Regions from separate parts of the Homo sapiens genome. Here region 2 is linked to region 1. Evidence: promoter capture Hi-C in human tissues and cell types (Jung and others, 2019). All regions are on one chromosome and are shown on one strand. The core of a region is centred on a gene start or on the middle of the fragment in contact, and the rest is flanking DNA. Distances in the headings are between cores, read along the strand shown. Region 1 holds the start of TAPT1 (transmembrane anterior posterior transformation 1). Region 2 overlaps QDPR (quinoid dihydropteridine reductase).

The links. Contacts are between HindIII fragments. The study calls those that stand out against the background at their distance.
Region 2: a contact is called between a fragment that was not itself captured here and the fragment with the promoter of TAPT1 in region 1, in 1 of the 25 tissues and cell types used here (dorsolateral prefrontal cortex).

The regions. Positions count from the first base shown.
Region 1 is chr4:16,223,374-16,228,212 of GRCh38, forward strand. It overlaps TAPT1 (transmembrane anterior posterior transformation 1), which reads right to left and starts at 3,098. Exons shown (of 14, transcript NM_153365.3): 1 at 2,886-3,098. The coding sequence starts at 3,084. TAPT1-AS1 (TAPT1 antisense RNA 1) reads left to right here and starts at 3,290. Exons shown (of 3, transcript NR_027697.1): 1 at 3,290-3,804. RefSeq lists silencers at 2,651-3,030, 3,141-3,190, 3,201-3,300, 3,311-3,380, 3,441-3,640 and an enhancer at 4,151-4,210. The HindIII fragment of the contact is 8,869 bases long and covers 1-4,839 here.
Region 2 is chr4:17,494,062-17,499,272 of GRCh38, forward strand. The region is part of intron 4 of QDPR (quinoid dihydropteridine reductase); the gene reads right to left. Among named protein-coding and RNA genes, the nearest start is that of QDPR, 15 kb to the right of the region's middle. RefSeq lists an enhancer at 145-439. The HindIII fragment of the contact is 5,887 bases long and covers 1,019-5,211 here.

The DNA of each region.
Region 1 (4,839 bases), core at 1,848-4,347:
TGGTAGTATTTTCAAGGACAGGAAGAAAATACAGAAGAGATCAATCTGCAGTTCTTGATAACCACTACATCCAGAGTTCAAGGCCAGTAACCACATATGCAACAAGGAAATACACAATGACCATTCTGAGAGAGCAAATAAAAACAGGAATGATGAGTGGGATTCCCAATTCTAACTATGTTAAAAGGTGTAAGTACTCGCATCTGAGACATGCGTCAGCCTATTGCCAGGCTAAATATAAGTCAGAACGGGAGTTCTGAGAACGAAGTGATGAGGAAAAGAAAGCTTAGACTTAATGGAGACACATGTTTAGTATAATACAATATAGAGCATATACAGCTATTCATACAGACAAATATACATATCTAGTTTCTAAACATATAAATCAACAAGGAGAGATATAAAACAAAAAATGAACCTCAGACACCACGTTTTATTTTATTCAGATGGAAAGAGTTTGGATAAGTACCTAATATGTACATTCATTTAGGGAATTCTAGGCTGTTGGGACTGATCAACAAATGTCTTACCTGTAGGAGCCCTAAATTCCTTGTGAGAAATGATAAAGGGAACTTTGGAACTGACTGATGGTTCAGCCACCAAGACACTAAGATTATGACTTTCAAAAAGAAAAGCCAAAGGTTGCCTTAACTTGCAGGGGGATCTAGATCTCAAGGGCAGTGGTGCTAGACTCTCAGAGGCACACAAGAATATAAAAAAATCAACAAGTAATACCTTAAGTCCGAGCATCTAGCCGTGGAGGACTAGTTTGATTCAGGGAGAAATGCTATCCAAATGACTCCAGGTGCTGCCACTCAAAGGCCCTCTGACCCAGGCCAGCTCCTAGGGAATCGTTTTTAAAAATTCTTAAAAGGAGGGGAAGGAAGGATTACAGAGCAGGGGAAGAGGGCAGCGCTAGACTTAGCAGCCTGGGCATTGAAGAAGGACTAAAATAATTGTTTCTAGTGGGGAAACCTCTAACAAATATGGTTATCGGAGCTACAGACTGGGTGCTAGCAGTGGCAGGAGCTATGTGACTAGCAGAGCAGGGACACCAGGGGAAAAGAAGGAGGGGCTTATGTGGAGGCTCAGAGAGAACACTGGCCAGTGGCTCCAGCTGAAATACTCCTGGAATTTGGAATTCTCACCTAAATCCTGATCGCCAAGGCTAGTGTGACTTGGTAAAGCAGGAGTGGCCACTGACATCTCCTCACACAAAATCAATGGAACTGGGGAAAGAACAAGGACTACCCCAACAGCTAAACCTGGAGGCATCTCCCTGATAATGACTTCCTGCAACTATGGGTTAAAAAAAATCCAGCCTTAAACATGGTGAACCATGTTGGTGAAGAATGGATACGTGGTATAATGAAGTCCATGGAAGTCCAGGTATCCAGTCCCAGAAAAAGCCAGGGAAGAAGTGTTAAGTGATACTGCAAGCTCAAGATCTGTGCTCATCAATAGGCTTCAAACAACTTCATTTCCTCTCCACGCAAACAACAAAAAAAGGCTTTTAAAATGGTGGCTTTCCTGCAACTGAGAAATGTTTTAAAGAAAGTATAGTGAAGCCTGGCTACATCTATCTCTATTTACAACAGAGTGCTTTTAATATTCAAGTCTAAGTAAGTAAACAGACAGTTGAGAGATTTGCTATTTTGTCTTACTGAGATCCTGCCAATGAAGAAAGTAAATACTCTTGAAAGCAAATGTTTAACTGAGAACTAAACCAAATAAAGTATGGTTGAGAATTTTTAAGTGGTTAATTGAAAAAGACCAAACAAGACCGTCTGTAATTTTCCAAAAATATAGACTGCTTCAAATAGAACCTACGTCCAGTTCTGGGAATCAGCAAATCAATTAGAATCGCATCTGATCAACTTTATGCCCCTTAAGTAGTTTTAAAATTTCAGTACTCAAGTACAATCAATGATGTAATCAGCCTCACAACTTAGTTATTTGCATGAACTTCAGGAAATAACGGCTAACACAGCCCCTTTTGGACAACAGAAGTAATTTTTTAGTTGGAAGAAATTTAATGGAGTTATGGTTCAGTTGCTGTTTACAGCTTGAGAATTAAAACGTTGGGTTCACTCTATATTCAAGAAGACATCCATCTCAAAACCTTTTTTCATTTAAAACTAATCTGTAACTGCAATATGAATACAAATGCAAGTTTTAAAAATTCTTTTAAAATGAGAATAAAAACCTACAGCTTATAGAAACTGTAACATTGTAACAATACGTTTAAAACTGGTCATTGAATGTAGGATTCATAAGTACACATTTTCTCATCTAGTAATTTTTTTGGCATAAGTTTCAGTTCAGGAAAAGTTCAGATGCAACATTTTATGGAGTGTTAAATATTTCTGTACTGGGCAAAACTACTGAACTTCATGGTCACTACCACACCGTCAGCTGTCTGTGAAAAATCTACTTGCAGGGCAAGTTAACAGGTTTCTATGGCTCAAGTTTGCTTAAAATACAGAACAAAAAAAGTCACCTTGGCATGAATATAATTAAGAAATCAGCCGTGTGCTTCTCACGTTTGGGCTCCGAGACGTGGGAGATGCCCGCTAACCTAAGACCTTCCGAGGGCGATGCAAGGACCCGGACAGAACTTTCCCGGCCGCAGACCCCTTCTAGGGCACACCTGGCCTGGCGCGGCCGCGGGGGCCTCGGGGCTGCGCGCGCAACCCGCCCGAGGAACTGTCAACGGCCGCGGAGCCTCGGCAGCCTCGGCGGCTCCGCGCGCCCACAGCCTGGGGAGCCCCGGGAGGCAACGGCAGCCGCGCGGCTCGGGGGCCGGGGTTCCAAGGCGCCCCCGCCGCCCTCGGTCCCCAGTCCGCCCCTCGGAGCCCGCCACGGCCTAGCGCCGCCCGCCTCACCTGTGCGGCCCCGGCGCCTCTCCCGCCGCCGGTCGCTCTCGTAGAAGCCCAGCGTCTCTGTGAGCTGAGGCGCCGGCGGGGGCCCCTGTCCGCCGCTGCCGCCCGGCTGCTCCGCCTCGCCGCGGCCGTCCCGCTGCGGGCCGTCCACGCCGCCACCGCCGCCTTCTCCCGGAGCGGCCGCGTCGCCGACGCCCGCCATGTTCCGAGCACAACAAACTGTCCCCGCCGCCTCCCTCCAGCCTCTGCCTCCGGCCGGCCCCCTCCCCGCCTCGCCCCGCCCCTCGCCGGAGCCCGAGCCGCCGCCGCCGCCGCCGCCATCCGCGGCCCGCCGACCGGCGCGAGCCATTGGCGTCAGCGACGCGTGTGAGGCCGCTGCCGCCGCCGCCGCCGCCACGGTAGCCGCCATCTTCTTCCTGCCCTCGCCGTGGCGGGCGACGGTTTCTCGCGCCGTGGCTGGCTCGGCCGGCCGGGGCACCGCGCCGGGCTCCATGCAGCCGGGCTGCGCGGTCCCGCAGAGCGGGCGCCTCCGGGGCTCGAGTCGGGGACCCGGCAGGAGCGGGCCGGGGATGGCGGCGGCGGGCGGCGGGTCGGCCGTGGAGCCCCGGAGAGGCGGCCGCCACCACCGCTGCCCGCAGTCTGCGAGGTGTCCGGCGGTCCGCTCAGGGCCTCTTTTGCAGACTCGGTGCCCGGAGTGCGCCGGCGCCGCCCGCCAGGTCTTGGCACTGCTGGCGCGGCCGCGGCGGCGGGGGCCCGGCTCCAGATCACCGACCCCCACGAGCGCCGGCCCTGCCTGCCCGCTATTTTGGTTCCATCTCTTCTGCATATTTATGCTTGCCTGTTACATTCCCTGGCCTCTGAGTGTCCTTTGGCAGTTTCCAAAGCATTTGGGCAAGAAGGAGCTTGGGCAGCTTCACAACAGGTGGGGACGCGCAGGGGAGGGGCCGCGGCCGGACCGGCAGAGTTTCAAGGGCTGGCGCGCCGGCGGACTTTCCACACTGTCTTTCGGGACTGGGGTTAGGAGACAGCCCTTGGCCACCACTGTGTCCTTACTTTGTCGCTTTACTTGGGGCTGGACCTCCCCTTTCCAGCTCTGGCGTGTGACCCCGCAACGAGCGTGGTGTCGAGACCACCACCAGCTGGGGCGGTGGGAGCGAAGGTGCCCCAGGCTCGGGGAAGGTGGAAACCTTTTCCCCGCTCCCCAAGTGATTGTTGCGCGCTCCGGTGAGGGGACAGTGGTACCTCGATTTCCCGTGTGCCAGCTTCGGGACTCAGCTGTGCTTTTGTGTCTCTTTGATTAGCAAAAGCAAAACGAATTCCTCCCCGAACACTAAGCTTCCTGGAAACTTCCCTAGACCTAAACTTGAGAACCGCATATAAATGGGCCTTGAGGGTTCTGTCGTCAGTAGCGGGTTACGTGATTGCAAACGAGCAAGTTTAAAACGGAGTGGGCTTTGGGCTGCAGAGCCGCCTGGCATTCTGACAGCTGAGCAGGAGGCAGAGGTGAGAGTCCAAGATGGACTAAAAATGTCCCAGCAGCTGGGAGCCCAACCTCGGCCCAACCTCGTTGAAAGGAGGAACATTCGGTGCAGCCGTCGGAACCTTATTATTTATGAAAGGGGACAGCTCACAGGATTACATTTTTCTAAGCCAATCCTGTGACCATCCTCCATGAAATTCTCTATTTTGGTTGCATGTGGTCAAAACTGAGCCTCACTGAAACAATTGAAAACAAATACTCCCGACAAATCTTAAGAATCGTTTTGAAAATCAAAAGGTGGGGAAAATGTTGTGGCTTCTGAGCTTTCTTCAGCCCATATTCTATTATTCTCTGATGTTTTATGGTGTAAAATCATACCCATTCCATTATGTATTGATTGTCAAGAAGGAAGTAGGCTTTTATTGCTATTTTTATGTCAGTTTCCATTTACTGTCTCACCACATTTATTGGGTTATT
Region 2 (5,211 bases), core at 2,712-5,211, 1.3 Mb after region 1:
AGGCTCTGCTGCTTGCTAGTGACTGACACTGGGAGAGGCTACTAAACCTTGGAATCCTCAGTTTCCCATTTCGTGAAATGGGAATGACAATCCCAAATCCTAAGGATAATACAACAATCAAATAAAATACCATGTACAAGTGTAGCAGACAGGGAGGGTCTCCAAGGACTATAGGAGTTTCATCAGCTTGAACAATCAGCCTGTTTCACAGGCTCCTGCCCTTCAGCCTGGTTTTTCCCACAACTTGCATGGAATGCAGTCACCAAGTCAGGTGAAACCAGCAACTTATAGAGATGATCCCAAGTGGACTTTCCTCATTACCATGCTACAGTCTCCACCCGGGAGGAGCTACAGCTTCATCACCAGAACATGTGACTATGTGCTGGCGTGATGACTCACTGCATCTGTGCCACTGGGACCCCTCCTCCACATGCAATGACACACCCTTTCCCCTCTCCATCACCCCATGAAACCCTCCTGGGAGAGACGCTGCTTTGGAGAATACTTCCAGCATCCTCCTTAATTATGTCAAGTAATAAAACTCCATTGATTGTTTTTTTTCCAGGTTAACAAATCCCCTTTGTACAGTACTGAGCACAGAGGAACACTCAATCCTGGCCATTATTGTCATTCATGACTCTCAGCAGGTCACTGGCAACTCTTTTTCCTCGGACAGCAATAAGGAATTGCAAAAAGGGTCATCAACTTGGAATTCAAAAAGTGCAGCCCTAACTCCTGTTTTTCCAGCCACCAAAAAAAATCACAGGTTCTGTGGGCCTGCTTTTCCATCTGTCAGTGGGAGTGGTAACTCAGATCACAATTTATTCACAAGGCTCTGCTGAGGATGGAAGGAGACTGCATCCAACAAGGGCCTTGGAAACCATGGAGGGCACGCACAGAACCCGATCAGGGCGGAGGGAGCCCAGCCTGGTGTAGGAGGGGCTTTGCTCAGCACCTTGCCAGGGAGATGTTCTCCCAGTGACTGCGGCAGGGAGGGGGTGATGCTTCTCCCACTCTCCCAGCTCATCATTATTCATATTATCATAGATGATTCCTCTCCAGATCAAGCAGTCATCTGCGGCCCATCCGGGGCATTTCCTTCCTTATCAGCAGTGGAAGGACTGTGGCATGACGGGGATGGTGACAACTCTGGCCTTAACACCATCAAACCAACCTGCCATCACTCTGCTGCCTGTAAAGCCAGAGCCTGGAAAGGGGCTGCCAGGGTCTGCCTGCTCCCGGGCATCAAAACCCACTTACCCCACCCCATGTCATGGAGCCTCTTCTATGTGGGAATCCCTAGGCTCAGTGTTAGAAAGACGAAGAAGCACAAGGCAGCTCCCTGGCTCCCAGGAACGGCACAGCACACCAGAAAGAACCCAGAATCTGGACTTCGAGGCCAGGGGTTGGAACCCAGGTGATTCCTCACCACTGTGACTTGGGCGAGCAGCTCTTTCAGCCTCTGGTTCTTCCCTGCTAAATGGGATCCAATGCTAAGCTAAATAGGCTTTCCTGAAAACGACATGAAACGTGACACATCTCATAAACTCGAAAGGGCTCTTTCATTCCCAGAAGAATGTAAGTTCCACAGAGGCAGGGATTTTTATTGTTTTGTTCACCAATGTATCCCAAACCAAAAGGTGGCAATCAATAAATACTTTATTTGGCCAGGTGAGGTAGTTCAGGCTTGTAATCCTAGCACTTTGGGAGGCTGCGGCAAGTGGATCTCTTGAGCCCAGGAGTTTGAAACCAGCCTGGGCAACATGGTGAAACCCTGTCTCCACAAAAAATACAGAAATTAGCCAGGTGTGATGGCGAGCGCCTGTAGTCTCAGCTACCCGGTAGGCTGAGGTGGAAAGACGGCTGGAGCCCCCGGGAGGTCGAGGCTGCAGTGAGCCAAGATCACGCCACTGCACTCCAGCCTGGGTGACAGAGCCAGACCATATCTCCAAAAAAAAGGAAAATAAATAAATAAATAAATAAATAAATACTTTATTCACTGCTTTCAGAAAAGAGCAATAGGTGGGTTTCTCAAAGGAGGATAATGGGGCTTAATCAAATGGTGGCCACTCAAAAACTGTGGGAATGAAAAAACAAACTGGGGCCAGGTGCGGTGGCTCACGCCTGTAATCCCAGCACTTTGGGAGGCCAAGGCAGGTGGATCACCTGAGGTCAGAAGTTCAAGACCAGCCTGACCAACGTGGGGAAACTCCGTCTCTACTAAAAATACAAAGTTAGCTGGGGGTGGTGATGCATGCCTGTAATCCCAGCTGCTCCAGAGGCTGAGGCAGCAGAATTGCTTGAACCAGGAGTCAGACGTTGCGGTGAGCCAAGATTGCGCCATTGCACTCCAGCCTGGGCAATAAGGGCAAAACTGTCTCAAAAAAAAAAAAAAAAAAAAAAAAAAAAAAGAACAAACTGGTAGCTCTGTTCATTAAAACTATGGTAGGTGATTCTCAGTAACTCGTGAGTTTCTCAATATTCCAGACAAACTAACTTTTAAATTATTTAATCTATGATGAAGTGAAAAGAATAAGGCATGGAAAAGCCTCTATCGAGTCATCAAATTATGGTGCTTTTCTTTTTTTTTTTTTGAGACAAGCTTACTCTGTTGCCCAGGCTAGAGTGCAATGGTGCAATCTCAGCTCACTGCATCCTTCACCTCCAGGGCTCAAGCAATCCTCCCACCTCAGCCTCTTTTTTTGTTTGTTTGGAGACAGAGTCTCACTCTGTCACCCAGACTGGAGTGCAGTGGCGCAATCTCGGCTCACTGCAACCACCGCCTCCCAGGTTCAAGCGATTCTCCTGCCTCAGCCTCCTGAGTAGCTGGGATTACAGGTGACTGCCACAACAGCTGGTTATTTTTGTATTTTTTAGTAGAGATGGGGTTTGACCATGTTGGCCAGGCTGGTCTCGAACTCAGGTGAACCACCCGCTGTGGCCTCCCAAAGTGCTGGGATTACAGGCATGAGCCATCGCGCCCTGCCAAATTATGGTGCTTTTTAAAAAGTATGTGAATGTGACATGGGCACACACTAGAATGGGCACAGAATGCTTCCCAAAGGACACCTGAGAAGCCATCACTGTAGTTGGGCCTGGGAGGGAGTGCCATAGAGATCAGCGGTGTGAGTAGGAGAGAGTCTTCCTATTCATTGTGTTTCTTTTAGTGCCATGTGAATTTTTACTACATGCATTGGTTAGTTTTCCAATTTAAAAACTGATTAAATTATTTAAATAAAAACTAATACAGTGCCTTGTCTTTTCCCATAAGCTCTATTTGTCAAAGCAAGTCCTTTTCCAAGACCCTGTTTGAATCAGCTCCCTCAACAAAACCTTTTCAGAGGTGGACTCACCCCCACCAAGAGCACTCCGCTTAGACCGTAATGTAGCCCGGTCTCACACTCACACCACCCGCACCCTTGCTGCCGGAGGAGGCTCTGAATATAATTATATTATCTCTATATAATTATATTATCAGTAATTGCTATAATTACTGATTATAATTATATATTAATTACTGATCAATGTATTACTCAGACCAATCTGCTACTAACTAGCTAGGTTGTCTTAGACAAGGCACCTAAAATCACTGAACTTTTTTTCCTCCATAATCAAGGGAAAATAATAGGACCTACTTTACAGATACCTCTGGTGATGAAATAAGATCAAGCTTAGCCCAACAAGCCAAGCACCCAGAAGACAGATGCCTAAAAATATTTCTTTCTTTTTCGCCAAGTCTGTTGAGGTATAACTGAAACACAATAAACTTAAACACATTTAGGGTGTACCATTTGAGCAAATTTTGACATTGTGTATACCTGCTACCTATTGGTCTTCCTTTCCTCCCACTATTCGATGGATATTTGCTGACAGAAGCAAGGGATGTCTTTTATTAAGGTAGGTTTCCCTCTGCCCCGCAGGCATGTGGCAGGAATGGAGTCTTTCCTCTTTATGTTCCCCCACTGTGCCCAACTGTAGCTGCTCACTAAATGCTGCTATCACAGAATAATGATAGCAAGAAGGAATGATGAGTCACTGTAAACTTCTCCACCTTCTGAAAACCACTATTTCTTCTAGAGGTCATCAGGCTCCCTAAAATCCTCGGCACACACACTGTTTAAGATGTAATTGCTGTGGAGGCATCGCAAGTCCAGCGGGAGGTGGGGGGATGACAGCCCAGCCAAGGGACCAATCACAAAACTGCTTCAACAACTACCTCAAATTGCAAAAGAGGGTCAAGGTCTCAAAGAGCTATTTGGAAGCACAAGAAGAATATTTCGCCATCCTTAGCTTCTCTGTTTAATCAGGGGGCATAACAAACTCTTCAGTGATTAAAATAAACCAGGGCATAAGTGCTCATTAACCCAGCCCTGGTCCTCAAAATCCCAGAGCTCTCTCTTGACTCCATTCGAACAACACAACACAAGAGCAGGGACTCTGACAAAGGAAAGAAACAAGCAAATAGCAACCGTAATGGCTTAATTCTAAAGAATGACCTTTCCTTGGGGACACAAAAGGGGTTATTTGCAAGATATGAAAAAAAAGACATTTCACTAAGAAGGTCAACACTTCCAAATTACTGAATGATCAGTGTGGTCCCCCAAAACTGATTTCCAATCACAGCACAGATCCTTTAATGGTAAACAAAAGTGAACACCATTTTAATACTGTTTGTCCTACAGAAGACAGTCTAGAAATACAAACTTGGAAATAGGAGGGTGAGGTTTTCTCAGTATCCTTCCAAGTGAAAAACTTCTGATGTGCAAACAAATCTTCTTGAGTTTGAGGGACTACTAAGCCTGATTCATCATTTACTTTCAAATTGTAGATCTATTTCCCCAGATTTTTCTGAGGTCTGCAGCATACTTAAAAGATCTCATGACTCAAATTATTAATAGCTTAACAAAATCTAACTTAAGAGGTTAAAGATGAACAAATTCATTAACATCTGAGGCAGAACAGCTGGGCAGAAATAAGCCTGGAGTAAATAATAATAATGGCTCACACTTACTATTGACTCTCTGTAATACCTTTCTCATCCATTTAGATCCATTGAGACATTTACAAGGTACAACCACCATATATATAAAGGAGACACTATTTTATCTTATTTTACAGATGACAAAACGCAGACTCAGAAAGGCGAAGTAACTTGCCGAACGTGTCACAGTAAGTGGCAGAGCCTTAAGAGAAGTCCAACGTGCACAGTTC